Linked DNA regions of Homo sapiens: region 1 is linked to region 2. The links are contacts of gene promoters, found by promoter capture Hi-C in blood cells and fetal thymus (Javierre and others, 2016). All regions are on one chromosome and are shown on one strand. Each heading gives the region's core, a stretch centred on a gene start or on the middle of the fragment in contact. The rest is flanking DNA. Distances are from core to core; before and after follow the strand shown.

Region 1 (2,700 bases), core at 25-2,524, 350 kb before region 2:
AGTGGTTCTCCAGACATCACTGTACAGTGGTTTGAAAGCTTTAAAGGAAAAAGGAGGAGAAACAAATGGGGTTGGGGGATTTTTCTTTAAATAAAATCTTACTGCGCTCTCCTAACAGATAGTTAGAGGTGGACACCAAGAAGACAGTACTGGAATTGGAGGTGCTCTGAAATGCCATCTGCTTCATCTCTGAATGCAAGTTCTTGAAGAATGTTTTAAAAGATGGACTACCAAGGGGTAGGAAATTTATCTAACTCACCTAAGCCATAGGAAGTTAACTAATTGTTGAGAAACATTAAACAACTTCTCCTTCCCATAAAAAGTTGAAAATTGGAAAACCGGAGTCAATAGCATTTGGACTAAGTCGGATTGGAGATTGCAATGACTGGGAAGGAGATGTGCAGAAAGGCCTCTTCTAATTCATCTGACCTCTTACCTTGAAAAGCTGTCCTCATAATCAGAAGCCACTCCTTCCTTATCCTTGGCTCACTTTATTATTTCAATCGAAGGACAATGCACAAAGGAAGAAGAGCATTTGTATTCCCTATGACCTCTAAAAATGTTTGTGGTAGAAATGACAGGTGCTGAAATACATTTCATCTTTAGAAGTTCGAATTTCCATATCCAGTACAGTGGCAAGAATAAGTGTGAATATTACTTTTTTTTTTTTTTGAGAGGAAGTCTCACTCTGTCACCCAGGTTGGAGTGCAGTGGTGTGATCTCAACTCACTGTAACCTCTGACTCCCAGGTTCAAGTGATTCTCTTGCCTCAGCCTCCTGAGTAGCTGAGATCACAGGTGCCCGCCACCACATCCAGCTAATTTTTGTATTTTTAGTAGAGACGGGGGTTTCACCATGTTGGCCAGGCTGGTCTTGAACTCCTGACCTCAGGTGGTCCACCCACCTCGGCCTCCCAAAGTGCTGGGATTACAAGAATGAGCCGCCGTGCCTGGCCAAACTTTACTTTCCGCGGTATTGTGAGGAAGGCAAAAGGTTTGAGGTGAGAAGAGATACACGAGGGAGAAAGTATTACCCAGTTTTCTTACTTGTTATTTACTCATTCCTTTTCCCTCTCAAGCAGTATACACAACACACACATGTGCACGCGCACACACACACACAGTCTGTGGGGAAAAAAATATCTCAATCTCCTCCTTATGAAGGAAGTAGGATGTTACAGAGATATTATGATGCAATGAGGACCCTATGAAGGACACTGATGACATTGTGAGGTCAGGATTTTTACTGAAATGTTTGTCTGTATGAAATGCATCAGACCTAAATCAGCTTTCCTCCCTGCTAACATCCTAGTGGCAACTCTTACTCCTACCCGCACTATGGGATTTTAAGATCAAAGGAATTAGACCTAGGGCAAAAACTGAGACAGCAGGGAGGCACTGTAACAACTGGAAAGTTTTCCAAATTGGTAAACTTGCAGTATTCTTTCTGTACAGAAGTAAAAGATCCCCTATGTCCCTATGGATATCAGGAAGGAAAAGCGTCTCAACATGGCACTTCAGATGAGCAATTTCAAAAAGGCTTTGAACAGGTTTGAAAAATTGGTTGAACAAACAGCAGCCCAGAAAAGAGATGAAAGAGCAGGCTTATTTATCCATAAAGAAGGTAAGATCAGTGATTACACGATAGTCCAATTGGGTCTGTTGGTTAGAACTGGAAAATGTTTTAAGCCATCAGAGAGAAGCATCAGAGCTTAATGTGAAAGAATGGGTGCTGAAAGGGGATGAAGACCTCAGTTCTTGTTCTTTCTCTGTCCCTAAATAACAAAGCGGACATGAGGAAGCTTTTGTTTTGTTTTGTTTTTGTTTTTGTTTTTTTTTTTTACTTCTCTGAACCGAAGTTGCTTCAATTGTAAAACTATGGGATTGGATTAAATGACGTCCAGTGTTCTTCTGTAGACGCTGCCATTTGATGGCTCACTGGTTGACCTGGGATGCTCAGTAATGTATAGCACTGCTTTTTCTTAGCCTAAAGATATCATGAGACCATAAAGACTTTCATAAGAAGTGCAGCTTCCTGCCTCACCATGATTCCATTGTCTTGGCCACTCTCCATATCTCTAGGCAGGAATGATCTTGAGGATGCAAGCTAAGGAGAATATGGTGGACAGTGGTCTTACAGGAGGATTTGCAGCAGAGATGCCAGTGCATAGACAAGATTCAAGGGGAGTGGTGTAGTGTACAGCTTTGGCGTATTGAGGACAGCTGTGAAAAATAAAGCTACATGGCAGAGTGAAAGACTAACAGAACAAACCCTGCTGTTGCAATGAAAGGAGCAGAGCCCATATAATTGCTAAAGGGATAGTATAGCCAGCCTCTGAGTGTGCCAGGCTGCATAGTAATTTGTAAGTGAAAATCTTGACTTTGGGTGTTCAAACCCAAGCTGGTATTAATTGAATAGTATTTAATAATTTATAGTCATGTTAATCAATGTCATTATGTTCATTTTATTTGTGGAAAAAATGGGAGCTGAAGATAAATCATTTGCCCAAGTTACCCAAATTCTTTTCTTTTCTTTTCTTTTTTTTTTTTTTTCTGAGACGGAGTTTCATTCCTATTGCCCAGGCTGGAGTGAAATGGTGCGATCTCGGCTCTCTGCAACCTCTGCCTCCCAGGTTCAAGTGATTCTCCTGCCTCAGCCTCCCAAGTAGCTGGGATTACAGGCACCCACCACCACACCCGG
Region 2 (2,700 bases), core at 108-2,607:
GTGTTTGGGGGATGCTTTTCTCTCTCAGTGTTCTGAGCAGGGAACGTTTCCTTTGGGGAGAAGTCCCCACCCCTAGGCACACATACACTTGGAAAAGGTGCTGGTCTCTGCAACGGACGCGCAGACTCGGTTTCACACAAGATCTGAAAGAAAGGATCTCCCGGCCTAGCTTGAGAGCCAAGACTAACTACTTTAGGAAATTCTTAGAAATGTTGGCAGGTCTTTTTTGTTGTTGTCGTTGTCTGAGGGATTCTCCTTACCTGTTTAAAATAGAGTAATTCTTTTTTTTTTTTTTTTTTTTTTGAGACAGAGTTTCACTCTTGTTGCCCAGGAGTGCAGTGGAACAGTCTCGGCTCACTGTAACCTCCGCCTCCCAGGTTCAAGCGATTCTCCTGCCTCAGCCTCCCAAGTAGCTAGGATTACAGGCACCCGCCACCACGCCTAGCTAATTTTTGTATTTTTAGTAGAGACAGGGTTTCACCACGTTGGCCAGGCTGGTCTCAAACTCCTGACCTCTGCGATCCACCTGCCTCAGCCTCCCAGAGTGCTGGGATTACAGGCATGAGCCACTCCGCCCGGGGTTTAAAATAGAGTAATTCTAAGAGCATCTTTTCAGGGTACTAGTGAATCTAAAAGGTGACTTCAAAAAAATCTCTTTCCTCTCTTCCCCTGACGTGCCCCCATCCCCAAAATAAAACTGCCAAACGAAGAAAGCCCAACAGCCCCGGCGCACCCAGCGCACCTTCCTCCGGGGCACGCTCTGCGCCACCTACCGGATGATGCTGAGGAACTGGGTCATGGTCAGCTCCTGCGGGACCAGGAACTTGGTTTTGTCCAGCGGGGGCAGGAACGTCTCCCTGGGGTAGCGCTCCACTACCACCTGTCAAGAGTGTCAGTCCTTAAGAATGTGACTCAGCGTGAGTGTTAGGAACTTGGAACAGACAGAGGGAAGCTGTTGGCTGCTCTTGGTTTTTCAGAGAACAGGATCGGAACCCCACCCCCACGCCCCCCAGCGGAAGTCCAGTGGTGTCTTACCGGGATTTTGTTGGGGAACTTTGCCCGGATTCCAGCAACTTCCTCTTGTCTGATTGCTGTGAATATTTCAAGCACAAGAGAAGAAGCAAAGATCAAGAAAAGAAGCAAAGATCAAGAGAAGGCCAGATCCGCTCCTCTCTTTAGATAACCCAGAAAGCTACCCCAAGAAATTTACCCAAGCTTTTCCTCTGCTTGAAGGGTCTGACGCTTGGGATTTTCTGTGGAGGCGGCATTGCACTCAGTAGCTGTGTCTGTTTTAAAAAAGAAAAAAAAACTGTCCCGCAACCGGGAACCTAACTCATTCCTCCAGCTGCTTCCAAACTGCCTGCAGGAGCCTGAAGGAGGCCCTTATGTAGGGCTGAGTGACATCAGGCCTCTCCTCTCCCTCCCCTCTCCCCACTCCCCCTCCCTGGGCAGCAGGAGGTCAGTTCTGATGGAAATGGAATCGCCACCTGCTTGCTGGTCAGAGAAAGCCACTTTGTTCATGACCAGTTCAAGATGTTTCTTTGCAAAAGAAATTAGGGTTTGTAATAAAATCATTGGCTGGGCAGCGGACTGTGGAGAGGTAAAACTGCCTTGTGCTGGGATGTTTTTGCCCTTCAGTAGCAAGGGGGGGTCCAAGCTGGATCCACCTCAGCCTGAAGTGTGCTGTGTAGTTCTCACAATGGTCCATGCCCTTTATCACAGAAGGAAACCTATACTAAGAAAGGTGAAGTGATTTGCTCGAGGGCACACAGCAAGTAAGAGAAGCGGTATGGATTAAAACCTAGAGCTGTACACTGGGTGCAGTGGCCCACGCCTGTAATCCCAGCACGTGGGAGGCCGAGGCGGGTGGATCACCTGGCCAACATGCTGAAACCCCATCTCTACTAAAAATACAAAAATTAGCCGGACGTGGTGGCTGGCACCTGTAATCCCACCTACTCAGGAGGCTGAGGCAAGAGAATCGCTTGAACCCAGGATGCGGAGGTTGTAGTGAGCTCAGGTCACACCATTGCACTCCAGCCTCGGCAACAAGAGCGAAACTTCATCTCAAAACAAAACAAAACAAAACAAAAAAAACCCAGAGTTGTTACAAGGAAGTCCAAGTACTACACTCCAGTATATTCTGTCACTTAGTTTTCTCTGGGATAAAAGAAGGAAGGAAGGACAATTGTCCCCAAGATCTTGCTTTTAGAGTTAAGAAACTGGGTCTCTGGTCATACATAGGGGAAACCAAACTCCATTTCTCCTATATTCTCACAACACAGATCACTTTTGACACTAGATGTGTGTGTGTGTGTGTGGGTGGGTGGGGGTTCCCCATACACCGAGCAATCACTTCTACAGTGGACACCAGCTAGGTGTCCTCCAATCCAACTCTGACACTGTCTACCTGGAGACAGCATCAGATCGGGCTGAGGGCTCTGTCCCACAAGACTGTCCCCCACTTTCAATGCCGATTGCAAGCCCCAAGTTGTGTTTGTTGTTTTTTTGCTTGTTTGAAACAGAGTCTTGCTCTGTTGCCCAGGCTGGAATGTAGTGGCACGATCTCAGCTCACTGCAATCTCTGCCTCCTGAGTTCAAGCGATTTCTCCCGAGTAGCTGGGATTACAGGCACATGACACCATGCCTGGCTAATTTGTGTGTTTTTAGTAGAGAGGGGGTTTCGCCATGTTGGCTAGG

What was found. Contacts are between HindIII fragments. The CHiCAGO score rates a contact against its expected background, and 5 or more counts as called.
Region 1: a contact is called between the fragment with the promoter of WDR64 here and the fragment with the promoter of MAP1LC3C in region 2, in 14 of 17 cell types (M2 macrophages, fetal thymus, M0 macrophages and 11 more). The highest score is 14.8, in M2 macrophages.

Annotation. Positions count from the first base shown.
Region 1 is chr1:241,651,007-241,653,706 of GRCh38, forward strand. WDR64 (WD repeat domain 64) reads left to right here and starts at 1,275. Exons shown (of 28, transcript NM_001367482.1): 1 at 1,275-1,623. The coding sequence starts at 1,479. The HindIII fragment of the contact is 1,763 bases long and covers 37-1,799 here.
Region 2 is chr1:241,997,741-242,000,440 of GRCh38, forward strand. It overlaps MAP1LC3C (microtubule associated protein 1 light chain 3 gamma), which reads right to left and starts at 1,358. Exons shown (of 4, transcript NM_001004343.3): 1 at 1,211-1,358; 2 at 1,036-1,091; 3 at 774-880. The coding sequence starts at 1,268. RefSeq lists an enhancer at 1,343-1,868. The HindIII fragment of the contact is 10,018 bases long and covers 1,214-2,700 here.